7 separate regions of the Homo sapiens genome follow, and regions 2, 3, 4, 5, 6 and 7 are each linked to region 1. The links are contacts of gene promoters, found by promoter capture Hi-C in blood cells and fetal thymus (Javierre and others, 2016). All regions are on one chromosome and are shown on one strand. Each heading gives the region's core, a stretch centred on a gene start or on the middle of the fragment in contact. The rest is flanking DNA. Distances are from core to core; before and after follow the strand shown.

Region 1 (2,996 bases), core at 250-2,749:
TTGGAAATCAAGGGACAAATGCGTTCTTCCTCACCACTGCCCCGAGGCTTCCAACAGGTTGGAGAGGTGCCTTTGGAAGTCAGTCTCCGCAGGCTGCGCTCGCATGACCGCTCTCGTCTCACCACCGAGAACTTTCATTTCTACTAAGAGTAAAACACTCGGAGCAACTTCTCCAAAAGCGCGAGTTCTGTCCGTGAAAAAGCATGCCTTTCCCACACCGAGCCAACGTCCAGAGGAGAGGGACACCGTCCCCACACGTGTCAGTGTGCGGGAGTCGCCAATTACACCCGATTTACCTCCTAAGGGAAAAGTGTAAACCGGCATGTCAGCGACGACAGGCAGACGTGCCTAGTGGAACCCCAGGCTCATTTCAATACAATAAGCCACATTCCTACAATTACGCCCTCTTTCCTGAGGTCCTCCGAGTGCGTCTGCAAACTCTGGCCGTCGCTGCCTAGGCCCTTCCCTCCTAAGCTTCCTTCCAGAGAACCAGCTCGGTGCCACCATTAGCAACATTTACTTGGACCCACCAGAGCTCCTATTTTCAATCCTACTTAAAAGGCAGGAAAATTACTGCCGTTCATCACCGGAGCTGCAACTCCCTGCCGCTGCCGCTGCCGCCGCCGCCGCCGCCGCCGAGAGCATCATTACCATGACAACTAGAGCCGAAATACCCTGAATTACATCGCTGGAGCCGCTATAGCACAAATCCCGGTCCTCCTCTTTGTTAGAGGCTTTTCGCCTCTTCGAGTGGGGGGAGGAATCCCACGAGCTCCAGAGATCCCCGCGGGCCCACTACAGGGGAAAAGTTTCAGATCAGAACCTACGGGCCGCTGGGCTAGCAAAGCCGGAGCCGGGCGGCAAGGTCAGGGGAGGGAACCCCACACTCAAAGTTGTCAATTTCAGGAGCGACGCTTCCCAGCAAGCCAACTTTTTTAGCAAGTCCCCTTATTAACTGGGCGAATCTCATACGTACTTGAGTGCTGTGGCGGTTCCGTCTTTAGAGCGAGTTTCTAGAGAGCTGTCCCGAAATCTGCACTGGGGGGGAGTCACAGCTGCTGTCCCGGAAGGGCTGCGGTGTACAAGCCCAGCGGCTCCCGGAGGCGGTGAGCGGCTGGTGGGGGATGCTGCGATCCCGACTCATGGGAGAGCACAGCCGAGAGGTTCCGCGGGCGTCCTGGCTTGGGCTGTGACCAGGGGGGAGGATGCCGCCGCTGTTCCCACCTCCACGGCCACTGCCGGCACCGTCAGCGTTGCAAAGTGAGCCCGGGAGGGGCGTCCAGCTGCGGCGCCGCGCTGCACCGGCAAGGGCTCAGGGCAAGAGGGGTGTGAGCGCGCGGGAGAGCGAAGTGTGTGTGCGGAGCCTGTGTGCGCGCTTGTGTCTGTGTGTGCGAGTGAGGGAGCGGGTGTGAGCGCGTCTGTGTATGGGGAGCGGAGGAGGAGCAGGAGCTGGAGGGGTGGGGGGCGGGAGGCAGGAGACTCCGCTCTCCCGGCTGCGCGTTCGCTCGCTCTCTCGGCACGTCATTTATGCCACAGGAGCCCTAGCGGCCTCTCCATAGAGTGCCTGGAATGCGAGACGTCAATGTGACGCCATGGGACGCTACGTCACCCTCCTCCTCCCTCCCCTGGCCCAGCCGGTTCCGCGTGTGCGAGGGAGGGTGTGTGTGTTCGTGTGCGCGCGCGCGCGCGCGCGTTCCTCGGCCAGTCGCACGGCCGCACAATGGAAACTCCGCCGCACGGCCGGCCCCGGCCTGGGGGCTTCTCTTTTTGCAGCGGAACCGCTCGCCAGGGCGTGCGTCTGCGGGAGGGTGCAGCGGCCTGCCCACGGGTCAGGCGGGACCGCCCAGCTGTCAGGCTCGGGTGGAGTAGAGTTGGAGGAGTGCTGCTGGCGCGCCTCCGAGGCTGCCCCGAGGCACGGAGCCAGGGCGAGGGGGGTAAGGGAGAGGACAGCTCTTCCGAAAGGGAAGGCTCCGCCAGCCAGCTTCTGACCAGCTCCAGTGACCTGGCAGCCGGTGCAGAAGGCGTCTGGCACCAGCCCGAAGACGCCCTGAGGTGCAGCTGCACTTTCCTCTTGCATAGGTTCTAAAGCTGTTTACGTTGCTCCGGTCCTCTGCGCCCAGGCTAATCCCCCCTCCCCGCATCATTTACTGGGTGCGTGTTTCACACAGGGATGCAGATGGTTCCGGGGATAAGGTTTGATTTCTTTACACGTACGGCGTGGGTTTCTTAACTGGACACGTTATAACCCAGCGAAGTGCACATCCATCATGCACACGCGCGCTGCAGCAGAAACTACTCTGTGTGTAAAACAAACACACACGTGTTGAACAGCTGAGCGGGTCTGACTATTGCAAATCATTCCTCCTCCCCGGCACCGGGTCAGAAATGGAACTCTCAACTAGCACTTTCACTTTTTGATGGTTGTAGATGCCCTCCGCCCACATCTCCCAAATTAAACATTTCGAAATCAATCAACAGGACTTATTAGTCAGTCCCTCGCTAGGGGATTTGCTTTGGTCTCCTCGGACACATTTGTCATGAAATGGTGTGCCGAAAGCCTGGGTGACTGTATGAAGGAGAGCAATTTCTTCCTGGAAATGATAAATTTAAGTGTAAATTTCTTGATGAAAACAAAATTTATCAGAGTTAAAGACCCCTAGTCCCAAAGGTTGCTGCTGAGTGAACGCAGTCTCTTTCAGAAATGAATTTTTGGACAGGAGAAAATATTTGAGTGAAACAATGCAGATAGAGTGGTCCCCATGTGGTCCGCTTGAATCACAAATACCGTTTTATATGTTTGACCTGTCCCAATTTGTGTGTGTGTGGCGGGGGCGGGGGGCGCTGCGCCGAGGGGAGATACAAGATTCCTTTGTAGACAGCACACATTTCAGAATCGAAGAAGGTTCGAGCTAGGACCAGAAACTTGAAAACAAACTACATATAGGTAAATATGGCATGTATATCTTTCTTCGCCTCCACTTCCAATTCAGACACGG
Region 2 (2,700 bases), core at 137-2,636, 510 kb before region 1:
CATGGTAGACGTAATGCTTTATAGATGTGTGTGTCTTTGTTTCTAGCATCAAGCATTGCACAGTTCTCTCCAATAACATAGATCATCTCTTACTGAATTTAACACTGTCTGATATCATGGTCTCCCTGGCAAATGCGTCAACTTTGCAGAAGGATTGCAGTTGGATAGAAATGATAAGGAAATTTGTAACAGAGACCCTTGAAGATGGCTCTAGGCTAAATAGTAAGCAACTGAACAGATTGCTGGGAGTATCCTGGAGGTTAATGCAAATACAGCCAAACAGAGGTAGGTGATGCTACTTTGCCCTTATTTAAGAGTGGAGCTCTTACATGTGCTATCTTAAGGTCTAGCTTTGAAATGATGGCTTGTAAACATTCCATGTAGTCAGGCTAATTGTATTCAAGCCATAAAAGGTAGCTACTGTCTACTTGAACACTGAAATTGTTTATGGCTCAGAGTATCTCTAAGTGGGTAGGTCCACTCTGAAGCAGATTGATAAAGATTTCTACCCTCTTCTGATCTAGTTTGGCTAGAACTTGAGAACTTTTTCCCTTGATTGATATGGCATGAATCTTCCCTGTCTCTTTACCTTTTTTCTAGCTTAAGGTTAAGTTATATTAAGTCAGTTTTAGAGTGACTTACTAATTCTTTGATTTTAAAACAAAGTTTTCCTATTTGGTTCCCATCTAAATTGCCTTTCTAATATTCTGGTTTTTGTCATTCCTAGGTTTGTTGTTAAGAAAATTTATACTGTAACTACTGATTGGTTTGACTTTTTTATTAGGCTATTGCTATAGGACTTCAATGGTAGTTGTCTATTTGTGGCTAAAATTGGCTTTGCCATAGGAAGAAAGTAAAGTACTTCGGTGCATTCAGAGGAATTTGGGGGCTGTTAAACATTTTTTGATTCATATGCAAGTTGTTTTCTTTCTGTTTGTAGAGGACACAGAGACTCTTATTAAGGCAGTTTATACATTATATCAGCAGAGGGGCCTTATCCTTCCAGTTCGGACTTTGTTATTGAAGTTTTTCAGTAAAATCTATCAGACAGAAGAACTGAGATCTTGTAGATTCAGGTAAAATCTTGTTATTTTTCCTTTCTTTTTTCTCTTGCTGAGTTTTTCTGTAGTCTAAGTATTTAAATAATTTTAGAGAGATTAAATCTTTGGAGAAGTTCATTCTTTTTAATCCTACTTGTTTGCATTTAAGAAATGGTATAAAATTTTAAAAGATGCATACGTAATAGTGCCAGTAAACTTTATACCCATATCTGAACAGATAAAAGACTGCTTAGGCATGCATTTCTACCTGTCCACTTATAGCTAAGGGACAGTTGGAACAACCTCAGCCCTTTCTCTTCCCCTCCCATAAAAATTACGGAGGTTGAATCTCTAGCCATTAGTGACATATTGAGGCATATGGGATAAGAGTGAGGGCAATAGAAGATGAGAAAGTTTCTGGCTTAGTTTAGTGCTATCAGAGAGAGACAACAAAAGAGTGGACTAAGGAATTTTTCAATAAGGTGAGTTTGAGGTTTATTTGGCATAGTCAGAAATGTTTGAGAGGAAGATACAGATTTGGGATACCTCAACATATATAGGTAGTTGTTGTAACGTATTCTGGTATTTACTTTAAGCCAAGTTACTTTACATAATCTCAATAATCTTCATACTGCTACTGTGAGGTGGATACTGTTAGCTTCCATTTTACAGAAGGAAGCAGAAAATAAATAAATTGGTGAGTATTATGTAGCTAATGTATAGCAGAGCTGAGACTTAAGTTCAGGTCTATCTTGACAGCAAAGTCCATGATAGAATCACCAGCCTTTCAGGGGACCTAGTGAAAATGTTCACTGTTATTCAAGACATTTACACTCCAGCAAGTATTCTAAAGAAATAAAAATAGCACAAGTTTGAAGCTATTTTGTATGGGAGCAACTTATGGTGAATGTGTACATTTGTTAATATAGTATAATAACACCGATTAGGATAAATAGTTAAGTGTCTCTATCCTTCAAAATAAAAATACAATTTAGATACTGCCCCAGTTAACATTAATTTAGTGGGTAAAGCCTTGGAAAATGATGCTGGCATCTTGTAGGTTCTCAAATGTTTAAATGAATAAATGTGGTATTATTGATACATAATTAGTCACTTTGTGATATATTTAAGTTAAAAAAAAATTTTTTTTTTGTTTAAATTTATTTCCCTTGTCTTTGAGTATTACATTTTATTCTTCTTTGGCCTTTCTAAGATATCGTAGTAAAGTGTTATCCCGTTGGCTGGCTGGCTTACCATTGCAACTTGCTCATCTTGGCTCCCGAAATCCTGAGCTCTCTACACAGCTTATCGATATCATTCATACCGCTGCAGCACGAGCAAATAAAGAATTACTAAAAAGTTTACAAGCTACTGCCCTCCGAATTTATGGTAAGAGTTCATTTGTTTAATGGTATGGGTAGTCATTGATCCACCCTGATATACAAAAGAAGTTTTTAAGGGGAGCTCTGTAATTTTGCCTTTCCCTTAGTCTGAATTAGTAATACCATGGTTAAATTGCCAGAACAAAACATCATACAGTAAATTCATTTTCAATATTTATTAGAATATAGAAGGTTAATGATTGTTGATGCTTATTGCATTCTTAAATTGTCTTTCAAACCACTTGCTATTCATAAATTCAAAACTAATCTGATACTTA
Region 3 (2,969 bases), core at 65-2,564, 480 kb after region 1:
TCTGACCCTGTTTCATCAAAGCCATTATTTCCTTTACACTGGATGCTTATTTTCCTGCAATGTTTGGTCCATGGTGTTCACAGCAAGTCCTTTTAAATTACAGGCTCACTGGCAAATAGCAAATTCTGCTTCCCAAGCCTTGATCACCCATCTCGACTCTAGCCATTGCTCTTAACCAGGAGTTGATCTCGGAAAATGGAAATGGTGGATTTCACCTTTAGCTCCAACTTCCCAGATGTTCTCTAGGACGCGTTGGTCCTCCACAGGGACATTCCTATCTATCCAGTGGCCCATCCAGCCTTAGAGCGGGTCATTCTAATCAAAGGCTCCTTTCGGGATGGAAGCACTCACATTTAGAGAAATCTTCCCTGCTCAAGCCCTGAGGTGATCCCTATTCCTCTCTCATTTTTCTCCAGATTTCACGGTGTGGTTCATAGTTTGTGGTTTGGGGCTGTGGCCTTTTCCTTGTTCCACTAAATAGGAAGAGTTTTCTTTCCCTCTGTTTTATTCATGTTTGTTTTCAGTGTGTTTCTAAGGAGAGACAAGAATTACAAATGCCTTTATGCTGCCATCTTTAGCCAGAAGTTTCAAAAGCCTTTTGAAACCCAAATCCTTTCATTTATGTATTATCCTTCTGTATTGTGTATGCTTCTATAAATGTCTTCAAGGCCTGCTATGAAATAAGGTGAGGGTATCTGTATATACATTTTTAAATGTCATGTTCTTCCACTTGCCCCTCTCCACACTTTGATTTCTGTTTATCTCTTTGGAGGTCTCCTCATCTTTAATTTTCTTTTTTGTCATTTCTTTCATCCGATCTGGAAACCCTTCTATCCCCTAAAAGTGCTCAAAGAGATATTCTCTGGGGACCCCTTCTCCTCCTCTAGCCAGAATACACTTGCCAGATGTGTGTTAGTTCTCTCCCTTGGCAGCCAAATTGTATAGGTTCCTATAGAATTTCCCTCATTGTCCATGTGTCCTGAATCTCTAAACCAAGCTTGTCTAGTCCACAGCCTACAGGCCACATGCAGCCTAGGATGACTTTTTTTCTTTTCTTTTTTTTTTGAGACAGAGTCTCTCTCAGTCGCCCAGGCTGAAGTGCAAGTGGCGCGATCTCCGCTCACAGCAAGCTCCGCCTCCCGGGTTCACGCCATTCTCCTGCCTCAGCCTCCCGAGTAGCTGGGACTACAGGCGCCCGCCACTACGCCCGGATAATTTTTTTTTGTATTTTTAGTAGAGATGGGGTTTCACCGTATTAGCCAGGATGGTCTCGATCTCCTGACCTCGTGATCCGCCTGTCTCAGCCTCCCAAAGTGCTGGGATTACAGGCGTCAGCCACCGCGCCCAGCCCCTAGGATGACTTTGAATACAGCCCAGCACACATTTGTAAACGTTCTTAAAACATTATGAGATTTTTCTGCAATGTATTTGTTTTAAGCTCATCAGCTATCGTTAGTGCTAGTGTATTTTATGTGTGGCCCAAGACAATTCCTCATCCATTGTGGTCCAGGAAAGCCAAAAGATTGAACACCCCTGCTCTAAACAAAACAGCAGTGTGGTGTGGCTCTCCCAAAACCCTCTCGACTGCTGCTGTGGAAACTGCTGCTTTCTGGCCTTGATTGAAAGCTTCTGGGAGAGCTATTTTAGGCAGCCCATACTGTGTCCCTTGTCTGAAGACCTGCTGTATATTATTGAGATGAGCCCCCAGATAGCTGAAGAGCCCCCTCATTCCTCCCACCACATCCCCGCTGGGGCCGCTGAGCAGTAGAAGCATGGCAGAAGCAACATCCTGCTCACCAGCGTTCCCACCTGCTTCCTGCATCTGTTTTCTTGGGTTCCTGATCCAAGGGGAAAGGAAAGATGATTCAACCTTGCGTGTATGTTTATCCTGCTGGTGGAATGTCATTAAATATGGAAAATCATGCAAGTAGAGTTCCAAAGAAATGGATCACTGGGTTGATGATCCCCTGGACTCATTGTGCTCGTGGCTGAGAAATCTGGTTTCGCAAAAAAAGATACTTTGGGCCAGGCGCGGTGGCTCACGCCTGTAATCCTAGCACTTTGGGAGGCCAAGGTGGGTGGATCATGAGGTCAGGAGATCGAGACCATCCTGGCCAACATAGTGAAACCCCGTCTCTACTAAAATTACAAAAATTAGCCGGGCATGGTGGCACCTGCCTGTAACCCCAGCTACTCAGGAAGCCGAGGCAGGAGAATCACTTGAACCAGGGAGTTGGAGGTTGCAATGAGCGAGATCGCGCCACTGCACTCCAACCTGGTGACAGAGCGAGACTCCATCTCTAACAAACAAACAAACAAACAAACAACAACAACAAAAAGATACTTTCAGGACCCTGAGGAATATGAGGGAGGATAGTCATGACCTGTTGCTGATGTAAACAAAACAGGAGGTATAAGAGCATGGGATTTACTGGCAATAGCTTCTACGAAGAAGCTCCTATTCACAAAATCCTTGAGCGGTACATTTTATACCTTATCTCATTCAGTCTTTCCAATAATCCCACAAGCAATTACCCCCATTTTATGCACAAAGATATTAAGGATTCTTATAGAGAGAGGAAAAGACCAGAAGAGTATTTGATTACACTGTTTGGTGATTACGTGTTAAAAACAAAAATGTTTTAATATTTTACTTCGAATAGGTCTTCCATGAAGCTGCAAATCGAGAGGTGAGGCTGACCCTGAGCTTCATGTCTTTGAGCAATTTGAAGTTAGGAAACACTCTCTCCTGCAGTGCTTTTGAGTATGGGAGTAAAACCTGCCTCTCTCCCAGGCCCACAGGCCTTCTTCCTAGGGTGAGCCCTTAGCATGGGCAAGTCAGCTACACAAGTTAGGATAGCCAAAGGCATCACCACGGCTCCAGGTCTATCACTGGGTGTGTGAATATGACTGAATAGTACTTCCCAACTATATCAAAGATCACAAGACTTTTGAACTAGAAAGGCTGT
Region 4 (3,105 bases), core at 507-3,006, 420 kb after region 1:
GGAGAAGTAAGAAAGGCCAGAGGGGAAAGAGTGCAGGCAGAGGGTCTCATTCTTTATCCCTGGACAGCTGGTCTGTCTCCATGTAGATGTCCCCTCCCTGGCCTTTAAAGGCTGAGTTCTCAGACAGACCCTGTGCGACACTCTGATACACTTTGACATGAGCTTATTGGCCAGTTTCTGAATATGACTTCTTTTTCTAGAACACATTGGCCCTCATGGATAGTGTTTCTTTTCAGAAGCTGTCACTATAAGCTGTGAAATCTCCTCCACTCCTCAGCTCTTCACTATCCTCCTTATTAAGAAATAATTTGGTTCCTCAAAAAACTAAAAATAGAACTACCATATGATATAGCAATCCCACTGCTGGGTATATATCCGAAAGAAAGGAAATCAGTATGTTGAAGTGATATCTGCATGCCCATGTTTATTGCAGCACTATTCACAATAGCCAAGATATGGAATCAACCTAAGTGTCCACCAATGGATGAATGAATAAATAAATGTGGTTTAAATACACAATGAGATACTATTCAGTCATAAAAATGTATGAAATCCTGTCATTTGCAGCAATGTGGATGGAACTGGAGAACGTTATGTTAAGTGAAAGCAGCCAGGCACAGAAAGACAAATATCTTATGTTCTCACTCATGTGTGGGAGCTAAAAAAGTGGATCTCAAGGAGGTAGAGAGTAGAATGATGGTTACCAGTGGCTGGGAAGGGTAGGGGAAGAAGGGGATGAGGAGAAGTTTGTTGATGGGTACAAAAATACAGTTAGAAGGAGTAAGTTCTAATTTCAACAGTACAATAGGGAGACCACAGCTTTATAGTTAACAATAATTTATTGCATATTTCTAAATAGCTACGAGAATTGGAACATTCCCAACACAAGAAAAGATAAATGTTTGAGGTGATGGATACCCTGATTACCTTGATTTCATCATTAAACATTGTGTACACTTATCAAAATATCACCCCTACCCCATAAATATGTACAACTATGTCAATAAAAAATAAAACATATACAGAAAAAGAAGTAACACATTAATTAATAACAATTAATATATTAAGTATAAAGCAGTAATTTATGTCCATGTATAATTATTAATTAAATAAAGTAATTTATATTAATTCATTGAAAATGCAGGTAAGGGGCCAGGCGCGGTGGCTCACACCTGTAATCCTAGCACTTTGGCAGGCCAAGGCTGGCGGATCACGAGGTCAGGAGATTGAGACCATCTTGGCCAACATGGTGAAACCCCATCTCTACTAAAAAAAAATACATAAATTAGCTGGGCCTGGTGGTGCATGCCTGTAATTCCAGCTACTCAGGGAGGCAGCAGAATCACTTGAACCAGGGAGTCGGAGGTTGCAGTGGGCTGAGATCGCACCACAGCACTCCAGCCTGGTGACAGAGTGAGACTCCATCTAAAAAAGAAAGAAAGAGAGAGAGAGAGAGACAAAGAAAGAAAGAAAGAGAGAGAGAGAGAGAGAGAGAAAGAAAGAAAGAAAGAAAGAAAGAAAGAAAGAAAGAAAGAAAGAAAGAGAAAGAAAGAAGAGAAAAAAAGAATAAAAAAAGAAAATGCAGGTAAGGAAGAATTTTTTTAAATTTCCTGGAAAGTCCGTTTCCCAGAAAAAAACATAGCCATTATTTTGGTGTTTGTTCATTCAGAAGTTGTCCGATGGTCATGTGAAGAGTGTGTATGGGCATACTTTTCTTTCACAAAAATGCAACAGTATTGCAATTCAGTTTGCAGCCTGCCTTTTTCACATGGCAATATATGATGAGCACCTTCCCATGGGATCACATGTAGAATGAATGGTTTCTAAACCTTTGCAAACCTCGAAATCTGCAGCATGGAAGCACATAGGTGATGAAGCATAGGAGATGGCAAGGATCATGGGAAGCAAGCCATAGTATTTGAGCCCTGGTTTTTCCTCCTAGAGCTGGGTGACCCCTCTGAACCTTACCATTTTTATCTATGAACTAGGGATGTTACCACACCCCTACCCAGCAGACCTCGCAGGTCTGGGGTGAGTATCTATGCAGTGGCAGACATAAAGTGGTAGACTCTTAATATATTATTCAAACATAAGAGATCTGTAAAGACTCTGTGCCCCAAATTCCCCTCCTTTTGCTACTGAGAGCTCTTAGATAACATCCCCAAAATCTGAAGATTCCAGGCTTATCCCTGGGGTACCTGCCAGCCAGTCTTCCTGGTTGGTAATAATGAAGTTCTAACATTGGAATGGGGAGGAATTAAATCAGCCTGTCTGACTTGTCTGGCTTGTTTTACCACAATATTTTCCAGTCTTTTGGCTACTATGGGGCCCATGTTCCAAGCAGGCTGGGCATCTTTCACAGCTCCCTCCTCACAGTGGATCTCATCACCCCACGTCTCTGCCAGCTAACCCTGCCAACTTGCTCTTACCTCTGTTGCCTCTTAGAGTTGGATGCTGTCTTCTCTTGCAACAGACCCCTAGAATGTCCTCAATCCTCTGCCCCACCTTCCTGGACTAAGACGACACCACATTTTGCCAGGAGAGGAGGTGGTGTGGCTTTCCAGGGCTTCTTCAGGGCTTCTGATGGTGACTTTCCAGAAAGGCCACCCCAGTGCCCCAGGGCACCCTCTGGTTCTACCCTGCCTCCTCCATATACCCAAAGTGGCATATGGACACTTCGTCGCCAGCAGTGAGGCCCTGAATGATGGCCACCCTCACTTCCCAGGATCCCATCACAGCTGAAGGAGCTGTGAATTGAATTCCAGGCTGTTCCTTCTCTCCCTCCAATCCATTCATTTGCAGTTCCCTCTTCCTGAATCATTCTTCCCCCACCCGACACCCACAACCCTTCCCCATTCCCCAGACTCCCCCTTCCTCATCCTTGAGAACTGAGCTCAGACTGTGGGGCCTTTCTCATCCTGCAGGGCTACTTTAGGTGCTTATAGCCTCAAAGCATCTAGTACTTCTAATTACCACAGCAAATTCTAATTTTCTATTAACTTGTCTCTAAATTATGAGTTCCTTGAGAAGGAGACTGTGTCTTATTTTCTGTTATTGCCTAGAGCTGAACACATAATAGGTGCTTAGTAAATATTTGTGGAATTA
Region 5 (2,700 bases), core at 1-2,500, 460 kb after region 1:
GTCCAGTGGGAGAGACCATCACAAGCAAAAAGAAAAATTAAATCCATGCACTCAGGGCTCCAGGAGAACTTTGCTGTGAGTGCACTAGCTGTCCGGGAGCATCTGGGGTGGCGTCTGCAAGGAAGGGATGCTTCGGATGAGTTTTCAAGGATACACAGGATTTTATGAAGTGGCAAAGGCAGGAGTGGGAAGGGATCTGTGCATGCAAAGTTCTGGGAAAGATGTGGAAAAGTTTTGTTTATTTAAGGAACTATGAGAACTTTGACGTGACCAGAGGAGCTACCATGCAGGCAGGGAAGTGCAAAGGATGAATCTAGAGCAGAGGTTTTAACCAGGGACAGTTTTGTACCCCAGGGACACTTGTTTGTCACAAAGAGAGGAGCAGCAGTGCTACTAACATCTATAGCGCAGAGGCCAGGAATGCTGCTAAACATCCTACCATACTACCGTGTGGACAGCTCCCACAACACCATGATCTGGTCCACAACGTCAATACTGCTGAGACAGAGAAACCCTGAGCATGGTAGGGTGTTTAGGAGTATCCCTGGCCTCTCTGCCCACTACAGAGAAGCAGCAGCCACACCACGAAAAAATGGAGTTCTGTTAGGGGCACTGTGCTTTCTGAGGGTCACACAGAGAAGGCATCCAGGGGAAGGAAGCCAGGGGAGAGTTGAGCTTTCAGATTCTGCAATCTGGAGTCCTCTATAGCTGTGTTTCAGCTAGCCCTCCCAGCTTTATTTTCTGTACATGTTTGATAAGCCTGCATCCAGTATCTGCCTCCAAATTGTTGACAAAAATGTTAAATGCAAAAATTTCAGGGCAAATAATGACTTAGACTCAAATAATGCCATTCAGTTTATGGGCATTTTGCATCCTTCATCTCATTTATATTCATTTTACAAAACAGAAAAATGAAGCTGGGAGATGTTCTGCAATCTAGGAATTATTTAACTATAACACGTTCAGCTCCCATCTCTTCTCCTAGGCTGGTCCCTGAGTGCTCCAAGGACCCATGCATCTGACCATAGGGGATGCTGGGAGTATCCTCCATCCTGGCCTGAAAGAGCTCCCTTTCAGCTTCCTGGATTCATATCTGTGTGAGTGGCTAAGGGCAGGTTCCCTGGTCTCCCTCTGCCCCTAGCTGTGACACTCACATACCCGTCTGACTACAGGGGACTCTCTCCCTCCCTGAGGCTGAATTGGTAAGAGGACCTCTCATGGATAGCAGGCAGGGACAGCTGCTCAGCTCATGTTTTCTGGCCAAGAAGCATTACTGACCCTGTGATTTGGCACTTCATCCAAACTGGCAGATGGGTACAGGTGCCTTGCCGTGATGCTGCTTCCTCTCCACCAAGCATGCCTGACCATTAAATCACCCAGCAGAGGACAGCACCAGTCAGCTGAGGGGTGGGCTCTTTTCAAGTGGAACCCCAAAATACTGCTAATCTGAAATGTCACTGTTCTCAGGGACAGCACGAATGAACCATGCCAAGTCACACACTGCAGAAACACTCTCAATAATCAACACTAGGTGTTCTAACAGTTTGTTCAAGCCTGTTCATCTGTGGTTTAGAAGTTTATAACATGACAATCTTTTACTCCAATAGCTTTCTGAAAACTGACTTCCCATATTCCCAAAGCCATCGCCAGCTCCCAGCTTTGTCATTCAGGAAAAAGAGTATGCACCTCCCCTTCATCCTCCTCATCTCTCACCATCATTAAGTACAAGCCCAAGGAGAAGAATCAAGGGCAATGAATCTTCATCAAACAATAAAATCCTGCCTGGTACCAGACCTACCTGTGCCATCCAAGCACTGCCTGCCCTGTCCCTCCATTAAACATCTTACCCTTGCTGCTGGTGGCTCCCGGGGCACTGTCCTTTCCGTGGCTCCTCCTCCCACCGGCATGGCCCAGCGGCTCTCTCCTGCTGCTCTGGCTCCGTCCCTCTCCAATAACATTGCTCCTTCTCTGGCAGGGTCCAGCCACTTTGTCACAAGCTACATCTATGGCGAGCAACGACTCCCGGCTGCAGGGTGAGACAGATAAGAGGATAAGAGGGAGCAGGAGCAGACGGAGAAAGAAGGTGGCAAGACAGAGCAGGCGAGAGATAGTGGTGGCTAAGTCTAGGGTGCTGATTATGGAGTAAAGGGAAAAGGAGGCATGAAAGCTGAGCCCGTGTTGAAAAGAATGTCAAAGGGAGCTCAAGCACTGGGCGGGGTGAGGGCAGAAGAGGGGTCCTTTCCAACCCTGGCACCTTTAAACTGTACAGGGGCTACCCTGGCTTGGAGCCATGCCATGCCTCTGATCCTAGGGAGTAAGAATCTCTTTTTGGGGGTGCAGGGCAACAGCACCCATTTCTCCATGAGCCACGTGCTTGCGTTTTCCAGTGGGATGCTCTCCAGGGTCATCTGGGTCCTCTTGCCTTGTGCTTGTTCATCACCTGAGCATGATTCTTGCCTGCTCAGCAGGGCGGTAGGGGGTTGTGAGCTCACAGCCCAGAAGCTTGACCCCTGTGGGGGCTCGGCATTGGTCCCTGGGACTCTGTGGCAGTGAGGCAGCCACACAGTGTCGAGTGGCTACTCTGTATGAGGGGATTTCTAAAAATACATCTGTCCTGCTTCTCATGGGGCTCATGAGTGCCAGGCAGATGGGACAGGCATGTACAACCTGCTCCCTCCTCACTGTCCCCACCACCGTCCT
Region 6 (3,004 bases), core at 384-2,883, 500 kb after region 1:
TGAACTTCATCTTTGTACCCATCTCTCCAATTCCCCAGCATCTCCTAGCACTACATCTGGCACAGAGGAAGAGCTGGGAGTAGGCAGAATGATGATTAATATGTTACTTTACATGGCAAAAGGGAATTAAAATTTCAGATGCAATTAAGGTGGTTAATCAACTGACCTCAAAATAAGCGAGATTAACCCAGTGGGCCCAATCTAATCATATGAGTCCTTAAAAGTGGAAGAAGAGGCAGAAGAGAGGGGCAAAGTGATGCAATGTGGAGAAGGACTCAACCCACCATTACTGGCTTTGAAGATGGAGGAAGAGGCCATGAGCCAAGAAATGCAGGTGACCACTAGAAACTGGAAAAGAGGGGAAAATGGATTCTCCTCTAAAGCCTGCAGAAAGAATACAGCCCTGTCAACACTTTGATCTTAACCCAGTGAGACCTGTGTCTGACTTCTAACTTACAGAACCATCAGATAATATATTTGTGTTGTTTTAAGCCACCCTGTTTGTGGAAATTGTTACAGCAGCAATGGAAAGCAACACAAAGTTCAATAAATATTTGTTTAATTAATCTGTTGTAGTGATTTTTAATCATTTTATTTCTAAAAGAGGTATTATATCAACTCAAATCTCACAGAGAGTCGTATTTAGAAACATTTTCTTTATGGAGATAAGAAGAAATATAAATTTTCTTTCTTTTCATTCATATATACATTCAAACAATTTTTTTAAAGCTTAAAGAAGGAGAGAAGTTCATTCACAACCTCACTGAGATCTAACTACTTTCATTTTTTCTTCTTTTCCATCCCTGATTGTAGGTGCAAATAATTTTACTATTAAAGTCATAGCAGAAATATAGTTGAATATTCTTTAATATTTAATATTGCATGATAAATATTTTCTATAGTTCTATTGTTTTCATAATTGCCATTGTAATCATTGCTTTATATTATTCCATTAAGTCGGGACACAAAAATTTACTTCTGTTCCTATTCCATGAATCAGTTGAGTTGTTTCAAGCATTTTTCCTTATACTTTAAGAAAATATTAGACCGGGCACCGTGGCTCATACCTGTAATCCCAGCACTTTGGGAATGCATTGCTTGAGGTCAGGAGTTCAAGACCAGCCTGGCCAACATGGTGAAACCCTGTCTCTACTAAAACTACAAAAATGAGCCAGGTGTGGAGGCACACACTGGTAATCCCAGCTACTCAGGAGGCTAAGGCATGAGAATCCCTTGAACCCAGGAGGCAGAGGTTGTAATCAGCTGAGATCGCACCACTGCACTCCAGCCTGGGTGACAGAGTGAGACTCCATCTCAAATTAATTTTTTCTTCATTTAAACTTTTCTGTTGAATTACCTGCAAAGCAGATTTCCATAATTGGAATAACTAAAAGAAAGAATCAGAGTGGCAGCTCTGGCTCTTGAAGCTCACTAAGGTAATTCCAAGAAGACTGGAGAGGAGTTTTCTAGTTTCACAATTATTTTTGTCAGGATTTGGGGTCTAGAATAGTTGCTTATATTGCATTGCATTGATTATGATTATGAAATGTATAAATGCATTTATACATTTGTTATTTTATTAGTTATATATTTTTAGAAAAATATGCTTATAGCTTTTGCTCATTTACCTATTAGAGACTTGATTATTTTCTTATAAATAACTTTTTAAATACTCTTTAAAAAATGTAAATCTCAACTTTCTGTCAAATTTATATACATGTTTTGTGATCTAGTTTGCTTTTCAATTTTAGCTACACAGGTTTGCATTTGTAGTTTATTTGCTTGTGTCATTTTTTTAGGAAAAATAAAATCAAAATATCAAAAACAAAATGAAAATTTATGTTATCTGAACTCTGTAGTGGATTAGGCAATTCAGAATAAATCTAAAAGTTTGAAATTGAATATTATATGAATAATCTGTATGGTAGCTTTCAATTTTAGTCTGATAGCGCATTATATAATTTATAACACAAATATAAATTTATTATTTGTTACAGAACATGTAGCTCATTTAATTTTTGTATCTCTTGACAAAGCTATAATTTGAAAACAAGCAAAGTCTATTTTAAAATTAAATTAATTCAGGGCAAACTAACCTCTACTTTTTTTTCTTAACATGTTTTTCTAATTCCAAAAGTAGTATGTGTTTATTTTACAAAAATTAAAAATGACAGAAAAGAATTTAAACATAAATAAATTTCAACCCTGTGCTCATCATACAGAAATACCTCCTGTTAACACTGAGGTGTATTCTTTCAATCTTTTTGCAAACTGTGTGTGTATAAAAATATTAATTAAATTTTGATTAGGCTATTTTGCATCATTTTTTTTACCTAATATTTTCGATGAGAGTTCTTCCATTTTATTAAATACGTTTGAACCAATTGGATAATGAACTCTTAAAGGAAGTTTTCTCATTCCTTAGCAGAAGAGTGAGTCCATTTTTTTTGCCCTGGATTCTGAGATCAAGTTCATTGAGACTCCCAGGAATAGCCAACCACAGAAAGAGATGCCTGTTGTGGAGAACCAAAGCTTTCCCTGCGGCAGCTCTATGTCACACACCCCACCAACTCTGTCCACCTCCCAGAAGTCCATGCACATTGTGTTCTGAGGTGCTACTTATTTTTAGGTAATGTTTTGCTCCTGCTTCTGCAGCTGTTTTTAATCACAAGCCTTGGGCACTGCATCCTAAAGAAACTCTGGCAGAGACAAAGGTGAAAAGAAGGAGGGAGAAGGACATGTCCAAACATCTTGGACATGATATTGACAGAAAGGGAACTTATCCCCATAGAATTTCACATTTATTACTGTGCCGTGACAGAAGTAGTAGAGGCTGCAATACCAGACAAGCCTTGGTTGGAGTCCGCATCTCCCTCTTAATTGCCAGTTGAGTGACCTTGGAGAAGCCACTTAACTGAATTCCAATCTTCTCCATATAACAGTAAATATGCCAAGTTGTAAGGGTTCAATGACTATGTAAAACTGCCTTTTAAACTATAATAAC
Region 7 (3,002 bases), core at 247-2,746, 440 kb after region 1:
GGAGGAGGAGGAAGAGAAAGGATTGATCTTGCTGTCTCAGAGGTAACAGAGGTGGAAGAAAATCTGTTTAAGTTTCCCGCACAGTTCAAATCTGTGTTGTTCAAAAGTCAACTGAATATATATTTATATTTATATACAGTTTACATTAATCATAATTTCTATATTTGCAAATCTGCCTACTCATTAAGATTAATTTTTAACCCCCAAATCAATACATGCAGCACTTTTGCTGTGAGCAGAATGGCAAAAAATTGCAGCCACCCAATGTGCACATTCCCAGCTGAGGTCAAACAAGGCGACACTCTGCCTCCTTGTTTCAGCTCTCACACTATAAACAAGTGTCCTTTTGTGGTCTACTCGGTACCACATTTTTCACATTTTTGTGCTTTTTTGTTTGGTATTTCACTGTTTCAAATGGTCCCCCAGCATAGCACTGAAGTAAGCCCAGGGAGGCTGTGATGCTCCTTACAGAGAAAACAGCTGTGGTAGAAACGCTTCGTTCAGGCGTCAGTTACAGTGCTGCTGGCCATGAGTTCAGTGTCGATGAATCAGCAGTAATATTAAATAAGCTATCTTTAAACAGGTGAGTTCAATGTCAATGAATCAGCAATAATATTAAATAAGATGTCTTTAAACAGAAACGCACACATTATTAGGTTTTATTATTGACAGAATTGTAACCAGAGGCTCACTGGAACCTAACCCTGTTATTTCCCCTTTGAGCAGTGGTTCAGTATCTGCCAGTGCAGTGTTCCCGGAGGCTTTTTAGAACACAATGACTGCAAATAATAACAATACAAGGCAGACTGGGTATACATAAAATATAAGAAATTTTAAAATCGAGGCTCAGAGAGGAAGGAGAATCTGCCTAAATGGCCTGGATTTCATATCTGATGCAGAAGCCAGAGTTGGTCCCTGAACTCAGGTCTGTCTGAGTCCCTGCTCCCTCTACCACCACCACTGCCACCCCCCCACACTACCCCCACTGGTCAGGGGTTCATGGCCAGATGACTTGTACAGACAATGGCCGTTTGTGGAGTTTGGGTAAGGAGGACTAACACCAGATGTCTTTCACCTCTCCTTTGCTAATGCTGCTCTTTGTTTCTCCTCCTACCCTTTTTGCTCATTTGTTTTTGGATTATCCATAACCACTTTGCCATTGCATTGAAGGTCCTTCAGAACAAGTGAGCTTGCTGCAAAGCACAAACCTTTCCAAAGAGGTGTCTAGGGAAACAACAGGGCAGTCAGCTTGGAAATAAATGCAATCTGTTTTTTTTTTTTTTCTTTTTTTTTTTTTGAGACGGAGTCTCTCTGTCGCCCAGGCTGGAGTACAGTGGCGCCATCTTGGCTCGGCTCACTGCAAACTCCGCCTTCCGGTTCAAGCAATTCTCCTGCCTCAGCCTCCCAAGTAGCTGGGACTACAGGCGCCTGCCACTATGCCTGGCTAATTTTTGCATTTTTAGTAGAGATGGGGTTTCACCATGTTGGCCAGGCTGGTCTCGAACTCCTGACTTCAAGTGATCCACCTGCCTCAGCCTCCCAAAGTGCTGGGATTACAGGCGTGAGCCTCCGTGCCCAGCCTGCAGTCGATTTTTACATTCAAGTTCACACATGAGCCAGTGAAAATTCCCCTACTTATTCTTACTGAAATTTAAACTCTAGAACAGGGCAGGTGAGAGGAGAGGAGCTGAAGGAATATCTGCACCTTCCCTGACTCTACCTTGGCAGCCTTCAGCAATCCTGGAGAGTCTCACCCCTTCCCACAGAGGAGCAGGGACTCTAAGCATCTTCAAACAATCAGTGCCATTTTGTGGGAACTTAGATCCAATATATCCCTGTTCACGGGTCCCACAATGCTTAGAATGATGCACTGCCCTGAGGAGTTTGACAGACGTGGCAGAGGAGAGAGGCAGGAGGGAGGAGGAGAAGAGACACTTAACAAGTGTCTGTGAGGTGGCGTTTACATTTAGAATTCCCTTTCCTTTCAAAGGAATCTCCAGGATAGCCAAAGAGTCCAGCTTAAAGGTAGCCAGCCAGAAAAAGTGCCCAAACCACGCAGTGAGATCACACCTTTGAAGACCCCACCTTGGCATAGACTCTACGGCTTTCACGAATGATGCTGAGCTCTCAGCAGCACCAGAACCTCAGGCTCTGACACCCACAAAGCTGCAGGTCTCCAGGGCTGCTTGGGCCAAAAGGTGGGTTCTGGGCAGCCCCCTTCCTCCTGGTCCACTTCTAAACTACACTCTTCCCTGGGCATATCTGATTCATAAAGCCCAGGGCACGTGACTGAGTGACTGAAAACAACAGAAATTTATTGTTTTACATTTCTGGAGACAAGAAGTCCAGAATCAAGGTGTTGGCAGTGCTGCCCTCCCTCTGGAGGCTGTAGGGGACAATCCATTTTTTGCCTCTTCCAGCTCCGGAGCTGTAGACATTCTTCGATTTGTGGCCAAATTGCTCCAATCTCTGCCTCTCTGATCACAGTGCCTCCTTCTCCTCCCTCTCTGTGCTAAATCTCATTCTGCCTTACATTTATAAGGACATTGGCACTGGATTTAGAGCCCACCAGATAATTTGGGATGATCTTCTTCATATCAAGATCCTTCACATCTGCAAAGATCCTTTTTCCATATAAGGTAATAGTCACAGGTTCTGGGGATTAGGACATGGTACTTTTTTTTTTTTTTCCGGAGGAGGGTAACCATTCAACTCACTGTACCTGGCTATAGATTCAAACCACCAATGAGGCTTTTTATACAAGTACAGATATGGAAGCCTACTTAGACCAATGGAATTGAAATCTTTAGGGCTGTGGCATCTAGACTGCATTTTGTTGTTGTTGTCGTCAGCTTTCCAAGTATTGTGCTGCTTAGCCTGGCTTGAGGACCAGTGATTGTACAATCCACCTCTTTATACAGCTGAGACCAGAGGCCCAGACAGGGGCCAAGACTTCCTCAAGTCACATTGTACAGGCTTGGACCCCCAGCAAGTGTTCCTCA

The links. Contacts are between HindIII fragments. The CHiCAGO score rates a contact against its expected background, and 5 or more counts as called.
Region 2: a fragment that was not itself captured here is called in contact with the fragment with the promoter of NR4A3 in region 1 in 3 of 17 cell types (fetal thymus, erythroblasts and total CD4 T cells); the score reaches 6.2 in fetal thymus.
Region 3: a contact is called between a fragment that was not itself captured here and the fragment with the promoter of NR4A3 in region 1, in 1 of 17 cell types (M0 macrophages). The highest score is 7.0, in M0 macrophages.
Region 4: a fragment that was not itself captured here is called in contact with the fragment with the promoter of NR4A3 in region 1 in 2 of 17 cell types (M0 macrophages and M2 macrophages); the score reaches 6.0 in M0 macrophages.
Region 5: a contact is called between a fragment that was not itself captured here and the fragment with the promoter of NR4A3 in region 1, in 3 of 17 cell types (M0 macrophages, M2 macrophages and M1 macrophages). The highest score is 10.0, in M0 macrophages.
Region 6: a contact is called between a fragment that was not itself captured here and the fragment with the promoter of NR4A3 in region 1, in 2 of 17 cell types (M0 macrophages and M1 macrophages). The highest score is 7.4, in M0 macrophages.
Region 7: a fragment that was not itself captured here is called in contact with the fragment with the promoter of NR4A3 in region 1 in 3 of 17 cell types (M0 macrophages, M2 macrophages and M1 macrophages); the score reaches 7.0 in M0 macrophages.

What each region holds. Positions count from the first base shown.
Region 1 is chr9:99,820,388-99,823,383 of GRCh38, reverse strand. It overlaps NR4A3 (nuclear receptor subfamily 4 group A member 3), which reads right to left and starts at 1,499. Exons shown (of 8, transcript NM_006981.4): 1 at 977-1,499. RefSeq lists an enhancer at 269-781 and a silencer at 1,356-1,405. The HindIII fragment of the contact is 5,731 bases long and covers 477-2,996 here.
Region 2 is chr9:100,327,516-100,330,215 of GRCh38, reverse strand. It overlaps TEX10 (testis expressed 10), which reads left to right. Exons shown (of 15, transcript NM_017746.4): 6 at 47-285; 7 at 941-1,076; 8 at 2,254-2,429. Among named protein-coding and RNA genes, the nearest start is that of TEX10, 24 kb to the left of the region's middle. The HindIII fragment of the contact is 5,792 bases long and covers 1-2,700 here.
Region 3 is chr9:99,339,351-99,342,319 of GRCh38, reverse strand. No RefSeq gene overlaps it. Among named protein-coding and RNA genes, the nearest start is that of NAMA, 34 kb to the left of the region's middle. The HindIII fragment of the contact is 629 bases long and covers 1,000-1,628 here.
Region 4 is chr9:99,402,754-99,405,858 of GRCh38, reverse strand. All of the region lies in intron 2 of LOC107987011 (a long non-coding RNA gene), which reads left to right. Among named protein-coding and RNA genes, the nearest start is that of NAMA, 29 kb to the right of the region's middle. The HindIII fragment of the contact is 6,505 bases long and covers 1-3,105 here.
Region 5 is chr9:99,358,785-99,361,484 of GRCh38, reverse strand. All of the region lies in intron 5 of NAMA (non-protein coding RNA, associated with MAP kinase pathway and growth arrest), which reads left to right. LOC124902232 (a long non-coding RNA gene) reads right to left here and starts at 2,153. Exons shown (of 3, transcript XR_007061692.1): 1 at 1,848-2,153; 2 at 1-114. The HindIII fragment of the contact is 2,508 bases long and covers 1-2,504 here.
Region 6 is chr9:99,318,848-99,321,851 of GRCh38, reverse strand. No RefSeq gene overlaps it. Among named protein-coding and RNA genes, the nearest start is that of NAMA, 55 kb to the left of the region's middle. The HindIII fragment of the contact is 1,803 bases long and covers 732-2,534 here.
Region 7 is chr9:99,376,037-99,379,038 of GRCh38, reverse strand. No RefSeq gene overlaps it. Among named protein-coding and RNA genes, the nearest start is that of NAMA, 2.3 kb to the right of the region's middle. The HindIII fragment of the contact is 7,833 bases long and covers 1-3,002 here.